3 separate regions of the Homo sapiens genome follow, and regions 1 and 2 are each linked to region 3. The links are contacts of gene promoters, found by promoter capture Hi-C in blood cells and fetal thymus (Javierre and others, 2016). All regions are on one chromosome and are shown on one strand. Each heading gives the region's core, a stretch centred on a gene start or on the middle of the fragment in contact. The rest is flanking DNA. Distances are from core to core; before and after follow the strand shown.

Evidence for each region. Contacts are between HindIII fragments. The CHiCAGO score rates a contact against its expected background, and 5 or more counts as called.
Region 1: a contact is called between the fragment with the promoter of NEDD8 here and a fragment that was not itself captured in region 3, in 1 of 17 cell types (monocytes). The highest score is 5.2, in monocytes.
Region 2: the fragment with the promoter of MDP1 here is called in contact with a fragment that was not itself captured in region 3 in 1 of 17 cell types (monocytes); the score reaches 5.5 in monocytes.

What each region holds. Positions count from the first base shown.
Region 1 is chr14:24,229,524-24,233,616 of GRCh38, reverse strand. NEDD8 (NEDD8 ubiquitin like modifier) reads left to right here and starts at 1,250. Exons shown (of 4, transcript NM_006156.3): 1 at 1,250-1,367. The coding sequence starts at 1,350. It overlaps NEDD8-MDP1 (NEDD8-MDP1 readthrough), which reads left to right and starts at 1,250. Exons shown (of 7, transcript NM_001199823.3): 1 at 1,250-1,367. The coding sequence starts at 1,350. It overlaps GMPR2 (guanosine monophosphate reductase 2), which reads right to left and starts at 688. Exons shown (of 10, transcript NM_001002002.3): 1 at 640-688; 2 at 277-398; 3 at 19-138. The coding sequence starts at 363. RefSeq lists enhancers at 1,060-1,354, 521-1,386. The HindIII fragment of the contact is 2,879 bases long and covers 270-3,148 here.
Region 2 is chr14:24,213,253-24,217,400 of GRCh38, reverse strand. It overlaps MDP1 (magnesium dependent phosphatase 1), which reads left to right and starts at 1,335. Exons shown (of 6, transcript NM_138476.4): 1 at 1,335-1,482; 2 at 1,604-1,664; 3 at 1,739-1,849; 4 at 2,802-2,909; 5 at 3,006-3,091; 6 at 3,250-3,458. The coding sequence starts at 1,446. The coding sequence ends at 3,377. It overlaps NEDD8-MDP1 (NEDD8-MDP1 readthrough), which reads left to right. Exons shown (of 7, transcript NM_001199823.3): 4 at 1,739-1,849; 5 at 2,802-2,909; 6 at 3,006-3,091; 7 at 3,250-3,458. The coding sequence ends at 3,377. It overlaps NEDD8 (NEDD8 ubiquitin like modifier), which reads left to right. Exons shown (of 4, transcript NM_006156.3): 4 at 178-544. The coding sequence ends at 274. CHMP4A (charged multivesicular body protein 4A) reads left to right here and starts at 3,913. Exons shown (of 6, transcript NM_014169.5): 1 at 3,913-3,992. The coding sequence starts at 3,962. RefSeq lists enhancers at 1,289-1,458, 1,871-2,609, 3,764-4,058, 3,695-4,148, 3,622-4,148. The HindIII fragment of the contact is 6,893 bases long and covers 1-3,220 here.
Region 3 is chr14:23,005,652-23,009,488 of GRCh38, reverse strand. The region is part of intron 1 of C14orf93 (chromosome 14 open reading frame 93); the gene reads left to right. It overlaps LOC124903286 (a long non-coding RNA gene), which reads right to left. Exons shown (of 2, transcript XR_007064075.1): 2 at 505-2,921. Among named protein-coding and RNA genes, the nearest start is that of C14orf93, 2.6 kb to the left of the region's middle. RefSeq lists enhancers at 985-1,545, 2,479-2,848 and a silencer at 2,269-2,318. The HindIII fragment of the contact is 3,706 bases long and covers 711-3,837 here.

The DNA of each region.
Region 1 (4,093 bases), core at 1-2,500, 1.2 Mb before region 3:
GCATGAGGAAAGCCCTACCTTACAGAGAACCTTGGCCATCTCAAAGGTGCCCACAGTATCCATATTGGCAGCAATGATGGGAACCCCAGAGTATGTCTGCTTTGAGTTCCGAAATGAAAAGGATCTTGTGAGATCCACCTGCAGATATGAACAGGAAATTGACCATTTCATTAATCCAAAAAACGTACCATATTAGGACAAGGACAGGCATCTTTCTTGGTTGTGGCCCACCGGGAGCGTGGGGTCAAGAAACAGCAAGTAGAGAAGCTTGCTCACCTCACTTCGAGACTTAAGGGTACTGCGTTTGGGCCTCAAAAGGACATCCTTGAAGTCCAGTTTCACATCGTTGTCAATATGAGGCATGGCGCTTAGCCTCGGGGTAGCGATGAATCTGAGGGCTGGAAGGCAGGAAGTCATAAGGACCAATCTTCCCCTGGGCTTTAACGCCCTGTTACGGCTGGTGGCCTCTCTTCGCTTAAGTTGTGGAAGGTCGGGCAAAGGCCGAAGTGTGGTCCCTGAAGCCTGTCACCTCGACCCATCCCGTGGCTGCGATTACCCTAGGGCTCCATCCCAGGTACTGTTTGTTGGGGAGGAGAGCTGGGAAAGGGTTGTGAGAGACCCTGACGGTGCATTCCTTACCCCGCTACACTTCCTTCTTCTACCCCTGCAAAGAGCAATGGGGCAAGAGGCTGATTTAGGGGAACGAAGGAATGTTGGCGACGGGGGGCGGGGAGGGTTCATAACTAGTTTCCGGAATAGAGGTACTCACTTCCTGTTGCCTTGGTCCAGGCGGCAGTTGACCAAAGACCACCTTGCTTAGCAACTAACCTCGTGCAATCCCGCTAAGCCTTCTGGGCCACGCCAACAGGTTCCTCTAGTTGCCGGCGAGAACTACTAGCCGACGAATTCCAGCTTCGGCGGCGGCAGGGCGAGGCCTTCTGGATAACAGAGTTCACGCACTGAGGTTGCTGTTGGATCCGAGGGGGTTAGACTACAACTCCCAGGGGGAAACGGGCGGGACCGCCTCCTGGCACGATGGGAGATGTAGTTCGTTCTGCCCCCACTTTTCGCTAGCCCGGGCTCGCCAGGGACTCTCAGAATCGCAGAGTCGTCATCTCTGCTGTTGCTAAACTGGATGCCTCATTCCAATTTACGACGTCACTGAACCGAAACGCGGGAGCAACCCTGAGCCTTTCCGGAACCCAGTGGGGGGGGGGGGGGGGGTGGAGCCAGACAGTGACCCGGAAGTAGAAGTGGCCCTTGCAGGCAAGAGTGCTGGAGGGCGGCAGCGGCGACCGGAGCGGTAGGAGCAGCAATTTATCCGTGTGCAGCCCCAAACTGGAAAGAAGATGCTAATTAAAGTGAAGGTGGGAGCACCTCCAGCCTTGCCAAGACGCAGTAGTACTGGGCTGGCAGCAGTGCCTTACGGGAGACGTGGGGAAGGAAAACCACGCCTTTCCCTAGCCTGGAGGACGCTGACTGCCTCAGGGCTCCGCGCGAGGGGTGGTGGGAAATAGGGGGACCCAGAAGGGCTTTGAGAGCGGGGCCCAGGTCCCACCTGACGACCCTGGGGTATTTTGCCATGCCTGCTTTTTTGCCAGGACTGTGCTATCACCCAGAATGGGGTCGCTTTTGTCGGGTCTCACTGTATTCGAACCCCCGCAGTCATAGAGAAGGCCTAGCAGCGGCTTGACTCCCCCGTCTCTCAGATTCTTGGAGTAAGCGCTGCTCTCCATTCTTCATTCCCAGGGTACCTGCTTCTCCCAGTCCCTAACGTAGGTCGCCTCCGAGCACAGCCCTAAAATCGGGGCCTCCCAAGGGCTAGACTATGAGCCTTTACTGGTGGTTGCCAAGGTGTGGTATCTCACCCGTCCTACAGGAACCAAAGCGGGGAGTGTGTTCAGTCAGTACCTGCCTTTCTGAGCCTGGCATCCTGGACCAGCCTCACTTCCTTGGCTGAGGCAGGTTAGTTACCGCTGCCCTAGTTCTTGCTACTAGCCATGGTTTCCTTCATCTGCATCTCTCAACTCCCGTGGTGGTTCTTCACCAATTTCCAGCCCTCGTTAGTCCTATCTGCTGTTTCCTCTTTTGTGCCTTCAGACAGACAGAGACCCCCCCCCCCACGCCCCCCTCAAAAAAACAAAACTGCTGACAAGTGAAGTCTAATGCTAGTTTGGCCTTTTTGTAGCTAAGTAAATCTATCGTTATTTCATCAGCTTCTTAGCATATTTACCGTACATAATAGTCATTCTTAACCTTCTCTTCCCCAGTCCTTCCAAACTACTTCTTAGCTAAGATTTGAGGTCTAGTATTAAAATAGTATGTTAAAGATGATTTTTTTTAACGTTGAGTAGCGGCCTATATAAGAGTCGTAACATCAATTTAATAGGTGAATGGGTCACTGGCGCCATTAAAAAGAGAAAATAGGCTGGGCGCGGTGGCTCACGCCTGTAATCCCAGCACTTTGGAAGGCCGAGGCAGGCCGATCGCTTGAGCCCAGGAGTTGGAGACCATCCTGGGCAACATGGCGAAACCCTGCCTGTACAATAAATTCAAAAAATTAGCCAAGGGTCTGGGCGCATGCCTGTAGGCCCAGCTATTCGGGAGGCCGAGATGGGAGGATTGATTGATCCTGGGATGTCGAAGCCGCGGTGAGCAGTGATGGCACCACTGCACTCCAGACCCTGCCTGAAAAAAAAGGCCGGGCCCAGTGGCTCACGCCTGTAATCCCAGCACTTTGGGAGGCCGAGGTGGGTGGATCACCTAAGGTGAGGAGTTCAAGACCAGCCTGGCCAACATGGTGAAACCCCGCCTCTACTAACAATACAAAAACTAGCCGGGCGTGGTGGTGGGCGCCTATAATCCCAGCTACTCGGAGGCTAAGGCAGGAGAATCCCTTGAACCTGGGAGGCGGAGATTGCAGTGAGCTGAGATGGCGCCATTGCACTCCAGCCTGGGCGACAAGAGTGAAACTCCATCTCCCCCTGCAAAAAAAAAAAAGAAAGAGAGAGGGGGAGAAAATAGGAAATAATATAGTGCTAGGTAAGGATATTGTTTTATGATTTTTTTTTTTTTTTTTTTTGAGACAGAGTCTCGCTCTGTCGCCCAGGCTGGAGTGCAGTGGCGCCATCTCGGCTCACTGCAAGCTTCGCCTCCCGGGTTCATGCCATTCTCCTGCCTCAGCCTCCCGAGTAGCTGGGACTACAGGCGCCTGCCACCACGCCCAGCTAATTTTTTTGTATTTTTAGTAGAGACAGGGTTTCACCATGTTAGCCAGGATGGTCTCGATCTCCTGACCTCGTGATCCGCCCGCCTCTGCCTCCCAAAGTGCTGGGATTACAGGTGTGAGCCACCCTCCCCCGTGCCTGGCCTTTTTTTTTTTTTTTTTTTTTTTTTTTGAGACAGAGTCTCACTCTGTTGCCAGGCCTGAAATTTTTTATTTTATTTTATATGTATATTACACAGGGGGTGTTACTAGTTCATACTAATTTTTAGAATGGATCACTGTCAAAATCTTGAGAAACACTAACTGTTGAATATTTTTATTTGAGACGGAGTCTCCCTCTGTCACCAGGCTGGAGTGCAGTGGCGCAATGTCGGCTCACTGCAACCTCCGCCTCCCGGGTTCAAGCGATTCTCCTGCCTCAGCTTCCTGACTAGCTGGGACTACAGGGTGTGCCACCACGCCCAGCTAATTTTTGTATTTTTAGTAGAAACGGGGTTTCACCAGGTTGGCCAGGATGGTATCGATCTCTTGACCTAGTGATCCGCTCACCTCCGCCTAAAGTGTTGAGATTACAGTCATGAGCCACCGCGCCCGGCCTGTTGAATACTTCTGTTGGCTTTTCAATGCATATGGGTTCTCATGTCCACTAGGTCCAAAGAAGTTAAGTTACTAATGCTAAGTGTTTTGTACACTTTTTGAAAATTTCACTCCACATTAAGAAATTTTATGTCACAACCCATAAGGCACAAAAACTTTGCTATTTGTGATATGCTCTCAGACTTTCAATTCTAAGTTGATTTCATAACCCACTGATGGGTTGAGACCTGCCCACTGATGGGTTGAGACCTGCAGTTTAAAAAGTACTGT
Region 2 (4,148 bases), core at 86-2,585, 1.2 Mb before region 3:
GGAGAATTGCTTGAACCCAGGAGGTGGAAGTTGCAGTGAGCTGAGATCGTGCCACTGTACTCCAGCCTAGATGACAGAGCGAGACTCTGTCAAAAACAACAACAACAACAACAACAACAACAACAAAAAACTCCTAAGTCTTCTTTTTCTTTTTTTTCTGGCTTCCTTTTCCTGCAGGAATGATGAGAAGACAGCAGCTGATTACAAGATTTTAGGTGGTTCAGTCCTTCACCTGGTGTTGGCTCTGAGAGGAGGAGGTGGTCTTAGGCAGTGATGGACCCTCCATTTTACCTCTTTACCCTGTCGCTCATAATGAGGCATCATATATCCTCTCACTCTCTGGGACACCATAGCCACTGCCCCCTCCCCTGGATGCCCAGTAATGTATGTCTACTGGTGGGAGACTGTGAGGATCCCAGGATTCAGTATTCCTGGCCCAGAGGGCCCTTGCTGGCTACTGGGTGTTAGTTTGCAGTCCTGTGTGCTTCCCTCTCTTATGACTGTGTCCCTGGTTGTCAATAAAATATTTCCTGGCCTCCTGGAATCTTTCTTCTGTTGCACAAGTTGACTGAAATAAAAATGGACCTAATGCTCACTCAGTTATAGCAGGCTGAAGGAATCGGACAGTGGAAGGAATGGTGCTCTTACGGGGATTATCAGACTCTAGGAAAACCTACTTAGTGGTGTGTTGGAACCAGTTCCTAGTGGCTAATGAGAGCCAATTATTGGCACCTTTTTCCAACTCTATTAAGTGACTTCATGTTGGTAGCTTGAAATTGGCCATGGTAGGATTATTTACAGAAACTAGCAAACACTACAGATCAGTTCCTCCCCACAAACTGGTTGTTATACATCTACCAGTGTAGTGCTGACATGGATGGTGAAACCTTCGGAGAGTGAATTCTCTCTTGACTGTGGCTGTACTGGACATTTAGGCCTGGTTGGAGAACGCCTTCAAGGGTTTGGCTGACACTGTACTCTATGGCTGGAATATTACTGAGGACTTTGGGTTCTACACTGTCAGGAGGTTGATAATGCAGAAAGATTGAGTGACAAGCTGTGATGTATCACTTGGGTCTCAAGAAGAGGCAGGTGCTAGAAGAAAAGGCTTTCCTTCTTCCCTGGCTTCTTAGTATAATAGAATCGGGCAAGGCTGGGTGGAGTGGAGAAGTAGGGAGGATGCCCGTGGCCAATGCCTTAGAAAGACTTGACTGCTGTGGTTGCATGTGTGGTCGTGTTGGTACCTCGCTGCAATCCTCTTCCCCGCCCAGCATCAGATGGCACTCTTGCGCCATCTCCAGGCTGATGACGCCCCGAGTGGCGACGCTCTAGTCGCCATTTGTCTATGGCAGGCAGGGTGGCTGCCTTAGCTGCCGGAGGTTCCGCACTCTCTAAGGCCCCGGGTGAAGCCCCACCTCTGCTGCGCGCAGCCTGCGGTGCGGGTCATGGCGCGGCTACCGAAGCTGGCAGTCTTTGATTTGGGTGAGGGACGGGAAGGGGAGAATTTCGTAAGGTGCTCTCCTTTTCCACATCCCTAACAGCAGCTCCCGAATCCCTGCATCTCCCGCCCCAGGCTGAACCTTCCCTCTCCTTCCTCTCGCAGATTACACTCTCTGGCCTTTCTGGGTCGACACGCACGTAGACCCTCCGTTCCATAAGAGCAGGTGAGGTAGGGACAGGGAAGACTGGGGGCGAGATAGGACCCAGCCAGGGCTGAGCGCACTCTTGCCCTCTCCAGTGATGGAACTGTACGAGATAGGCGGGGCCAAGACGTCCGACTGTACCCAGAGGTGCCTGAGGTCCTAAAACGATTGCAGAGCCTTGGGGTGCCCGGTGCGGCTGCTTCAAGGTAAGAAGAGCGACTGACAACTGACAGTGTAATGCTGAAGGGTGCATGCAAGAGACAGTGAAACCCCTGGTCTACAAAAATAGGGGCGGTGCAAGTTTCCAAGTATTTACATATTTTTTCCCTTGAACGCTCTCCTGTGCCTTTTAACTATTAAAAAGTGGGGCCAGCAGGCGGGCGCGGTGGCTCACGTCTGTAATCCCAGCACTTTGGGAGGCCGAGGCGGGTGGATCACGAGATCGGGAGTTCAAGACCAGCCTGATCAACATGGTGAAACCCCGTCTCTACTAAAAATACAAAAATTAGCAGGGCGTGGTGGCACGCACCTGTAATCCTAGCTACTCGGGAGGCTGAGGCAGGAGAATCGCTTGAACCCGGGAGGCGGAGGTTGCAGTGAGCTGAGATGGAGCCACTGCACTTCAGCCTGGGTGACAGAGTGAGACAATGTCTCAAAAAAAAAAAAAAAAAAAAAAGTGGGGCCAGACACAGTGACTCACACCTGTAATCTTAGCATTTTGGGAGGCCTAGGTGGGAGGATCACTTGAGCCCAGGAATTTGAGACCAGCCTAGGCAATAGAGGGAGACCCTATCTCTACCAAAAAAAAAAAAAAAATTGTAGTGGCGTGCACCTGTAGTCCCAGCTACTTGGGAGGCTGAGGTGGGAGGATCACTTGAGCCCAGGAGGTCGTGACCACAGTGAGCCGTGATTGGGTCGCTGCACTCCAGTCTGGGCAACAGAGCTAGACCCTGTCTCAAAACAAAAGCTAAAACATTGGCCCAGCACCAATTGTGTCAAATAGGAAGGCAATGGAGTTAAACAGAGGCTGAGGATGCCTGTCCATCCCGGAAAAACAGCAAGTTGATTTCCCTGGTTATACTTACTAACTTTGCTTAATAAGTTAACGTAGCCCTGGCCCTTCACTTTGCTAATCCCATCTTTTACACCGTTTTGCAGGACAAGTGAGATAGAAGGGGCCAACCAGCTACTGGAGCTCTTTGACCTCTTCAGGTACTTTGTTCATCGGGAAATCTATCCAGGCAGCAAGATCACACACTTTGAGAGGTATGCGGAGATAAGGGAGGAGCAGGGTGAGAAAGTATCAGAGAGGCCTGGGAAACCAAGATACTAGCTTGGTTACTCCTGCCCTGTCTTGAATAGGTTGCAGCAGAAGACTGGAATTCCTTTCTCCCAGATGATCTTCTTTGATGATGAGAGGCGGAATATTGTAGACGTCAGCAAACTGGGTACTGAGTGATGAGGAACAGCCATTTGGGGTCCCTAGGAGGGATTAGGTAGATACATACAGGTTGGATAGTTTGCCCTATAGGTGGCACTCACAAAGGTCAGAGTAATAATGGAGAACCCTGAAAGCTTAATGAAATGTGACTTCTTATCTTTCTAGGTGTTACCTGCATTCACATCCAGAATGGAATGAATCTTCAAACTCTAAGTCAAGGGTTAGAGACATTTGCGAAGGCCCAAACTGGGCCTTTGAGGTCCAGCCTTGAGGAGAGCCCATTTGAGGCCTAAACTGAAAGGAAATCAAGAAGGCATTTTCAGGTGCATTTGTAATTTATTAAAGTTCATCTGTGTGTGACAGAAGAGATTTTACCCACAGTGTGGGGAGTTTCTATTTTTCTAGCCTGTGAAATGGGGTTGGTTGTCCTGAGGTGCAGAGACCAGAATGTGAGACATTAGACTGCATCAGGTTTGCCATCTAAACTTAGGGCAACCCCAAGTGCTTGAACCTATACCACCCCACTTTCCTGAGCTCTGTAAAGAGCATGAAGTTTTCCCACTGACCCCATACACTGAGGTGCCATCACACTGCACATTTCCTTCCGGAGAACAAGCACGTACTCAGGTGGAGATAGAACTGTCTTTTTACTTAATAGAAAATGATGTGGCAGCTTTAAGAGGAGCGCGTCGGTCTGGGGCTGGTGGCTTGGGTCACGTGACACCGGTGGTCTCGTTTGCGCCTCTTGATGTCGCGGCGGCGCCCTGAGGACGGATTGGGCAAGGCTGGTCCCTGTGTGATGAGACATCACCCTCCCAGGAGCAAGGCGGAAGTCTGGAGGACGCTGAGGGGCGGAGGCGGGAGAGGCGAGCTCGCGATGAGTGGTCTCGGCAGGCTCTTCGGGAAGGGTGAGCCAGGGTGGGACTGGCCAGCCAGGAGGCGCTGGCTGGTGCAGGGGAAGAGGAGACCCCGGCGAGATTCGGCCGGACCGCTGCGCCGGGCAGGGGAAGAGAATCAGGAGACAGGCTGACTGGAAAACCCCGGCGGCCGATGGCGGAGCAAGG
Region 3 (3,837 bases), core at 1,314-3,813:
GTGTGTTTCTTGAAACAAATTTGTAAAGTTATAACTTGGGGTTATTTGTGTATATGTACAATATGTGTGTATATGTGCCATATCAGATTTTATTTTCAAAAGTGATAAATATATCTGGTTTTATGTGTGCAAAGTATCCCCTAGGATGTGAATTTTTTTCCGTTGTCTTCCCAAATGTGATCAAAATATTTTGTGTGCAAAGCAGAGCTTAGAAGAAATCCTATGCTTAGCATACTTAGGCACTTTCTATGTGCATTTACTATATTTTTCTGCTCCTAAAGGATCAGAATAATGAATAATTAAATAATTGCCAAGGAGTATATAGTCCATGTGGCAAATGAGAGTAGGCAATTTATTGAATCTGTGGTTCAAAGCCTTCAGTGACTGTTTTGCCTAAGTGGTTTTGCTTTTTATTGTCTCACGTTCTTAAGTGTACAGCTGTGTATATTTTGGCCTTTATGTGTGGTTTGGTTGGTGTGTTCAGAAGGGAAGTTCTTTCTTGGCTTTTTGACAAAATGGTCGTTTATTGGTTGGAATATTCGAAAAGCTCCACAGCTGGCAAAGTATCAGGAAAAAAATCCAGTCAAGTGTAATTCTCAAAAACTGTTCATGGTGATGGTGATGGGGAGCCAAGAGGATGCAAAGGCAAATAATAGAAGGGATAAGAAATGCCTTTTGGTTATCATGTTGCATTTTTAGAATGGAAAGCTTCTCATTTCTAAGAGTCACAGAAAAAAGTATATGAATTAGAGAAAAACAGGCTCGCAGAGCAGAACCTCCTGTTATAGGAGCCCTATTTTCACTTCATTCTGTTACAGAATCACTATCTCCTCATTAGAAGTTGTATGGAAAATATCTGTATCCAAATTTGTATTCGCAGATTGGAGTGAAAGCATAGGAGGTATATGAGGTGCTGAGGGAGAAACTGGAATGTCACAAATGCAGTGACAACCAGGAGACAAAAAAAAAAATCTACTGTAGAATTTAAATTTCATTACAACAAAACTTCTGTATAATAATGCATTTCTATTACACAGCTAGCATCCTACTCTATTTCAAGCAGTATTTGACTCCTAAATACTGACTGCAATAAAGTTACTTGTACAAATTTATAACAAAAGTGGCCCTGTTTGGGCTTTCTGGGTTTCTTACTTGTGCTGAGTGTATTTTTATTCTCTAACAATTCAAGTCAGACCAGTGCTTAATAAATACTGGCTCGACTGTGGATTATTCCACAATTTCAGACCTGCATTTCTTTGAAATCTAGTCACATTTTAGTGATCTTTGTGATCACAACAGTGATGGGAGTTTTTTTTTTTTTTTTTTTTTTTTTTGAAACGGAGTTTCGCTCTTGTTGCCCAGGCTGCAGTGGCAATGGTGCGATCTTGGCTCACTGCAACCTTCGCCTCCTGGGTTCAAGCGATTCTCCTGTCTCGGCCTCCCGAGTAGCTGGGATTACAGGCATGTGCCACCATGCCGGGCTGATTTTTGTATTTTTAGTAGAGACGGGGTTTCACCATGTTGGTCAGGCTGGTCTCCAACTCCTGACTTTAGGTGATCCGCCCGCCTCTGCCTCTCAAAGTGCTGGGATTACAGGCGTGAGCCACCGCGCCCGGCCAGTTACGGGAATTTTTAATGGAGTTTTACCCTTTTTAGCTCTTTTCCACATCACTACAGGTCATCACATATACTTTTTACCTTACTTTTTAGCGTCTCAAAAAATAGGGAGAGCTCTCCCTGAACAGTGCAGAGCCCGTATCCCTGATTTCCTAGGCTATTTGATTTCTACATCCAGGAACGTAGGGTCATATCCACTGTTCTTGCTTTTTCTTCCTAAGAAAGGAGAGAATTCCTCGCACATATATATCGTTGGCTTGGCCTTCCAAAGCAAAGCAAAACTAAACTCTGTTGATTTTGCCTGGGAATCCTCGGGGCCCCTAGTATTGGAAACTTCTTTGAACTGTGAGGAGCTGCTAATTTGCAGGTGACATGTGAAAGAAATGTAACCGAGGCCAGCAGTAACTAAAAGTCGGCCACCACCCAACGTGTGACGCCGATTTGTGGCCACTGTGCTTATAATCGTGTACACACAGGTTTGTGAGCAGCAGAGAACAAAAGCAAGTAAACAAAAACAAGCTAAAGATGGCGTCTGACGGCCTTGAAAAAGCCTCACAGTCTTGTCCCTCCCTGAGGAGGCCCCTCCCCTACCTGACTTTTTGAGTGACTGTTGTTTGCAGCCAATAGTGTCCGTGACCCTGCTCCCCAGCCATCGTCTAACCGCCAATCACCGGGAGCCAGAAGGCAAACGGGGCGGTGTCTCCCCGCGTGCGCGCGGTAGCCGGGTACACGGGCAGGCGCCGCGGATAGTTCTGTCTCCCGCGCGCCCGCCTCCGCCTCTGCCTAGCTGAGTCAGCCCGTGCGGTAGCGCCAGGCACACGCGGTAGAACATCTGTAGGGCTGCAAAGCTGCACCTCCGCGTCAGTTCTCACGGCGAGCGCCGCCTTCAGCCCAAGTTCTCAAAGCTCTCGGGGCTACGTAGTCTACCCTCCCCGGTGACCCGGCGAGATCCCTAGCCGCTCCTCCGGCCGCTCTGCTCTCCGCATCCCTCGCGGGAATGACCCCCTTTACCCGGGACTCCCAGAGCGCACTGTATGGTAGGGCACAGTGGCGAGTCACCCTGTCCCCTGAGGCCTCTTGAGCAGTCGCCGATCTCTGCTTCCCGCGTCGCTGCGATCGCCTTTCCCGTAGCTGAATCACACTGACCCATCGGAAACGGTTCTGCCCTCCCTGGGGTCCACCTTGTCATCCTTGACTAATATTTAATCAACTAACATTTACCAAGTTCTCGCTGGCACGAGTTCTAGGAGCTACTTTTTCATTTTTCAGTTTCTCCATAAATGCAGTGGGTCCTTTAGGCAAACCTGAAATCGGAAATATTAATCTTACCAATGTAATCTTAGCAAATGTAAATAAAAAGGACTGTGCTATACTGGGCTAAAAATTCTCATCCTGCTATAGAAATATACGTGGAATTTTCAGATTACGTGGAATCCTTTAAAGACCGCATTCGGCCTTCTGGGTCTACAGCTCTCTTTTTTACCCCTAAAAATAAGGTCTTGGATTTTTTGCAGACCATTAGTCGAGTCACTCTTTTAAAATGTGGGAAAATAGTATTTTGTGGTATTTACTTAGCTGCTCTTGTGTGATAAGGAGCTCATTTCTGATAAAAATAGGTTTTGAGAGAACCTTTTGACAGGTGAGCCATTTTGCACCTTGAAGTGGAGGAGTAGGACTGACCAACACAGCAGGAGCTTTAAGTGGCCGTTTTCCTTATTTATTTCTTAAAATGAAGATTATGATATGAATTGCCATGCTTTCAGTAATCACATTTAAGGAAGTCTATTGCTAGCATGACCCTGAATGAGTCAAGCACCCATTATAAAAACATATATCATCTGAGTGATACCATATCATACACATCTATTAAATAGTGAGAAAACTTTTATTTTTCATAGTTTGGAGGTGAACTCAGTCATGCAGAAAATTCAAACTCAGAATGGGGAGAAAGCAAGCAAGGGAACTGCCAAGAGTATGATATATTTAGTCCTAACAAAAATGTGACTTGGGAGGAAAGGGATAGTTAAAATTATGGACAGTCTTACCCTGAACTGTCTGTCTAAAGGAGATGAATTGTCTTTCTTTTTTATCTAAATATTTATGAAAAATACCAAAAGTACTGGAAAGTACATTTTTAAGGCTCGTTTCACATTTATTTAAATTAGACCAATACTGAAATGAACCCCAAATGCTTATATTTTTTGCAAACCTAAGTGTGAC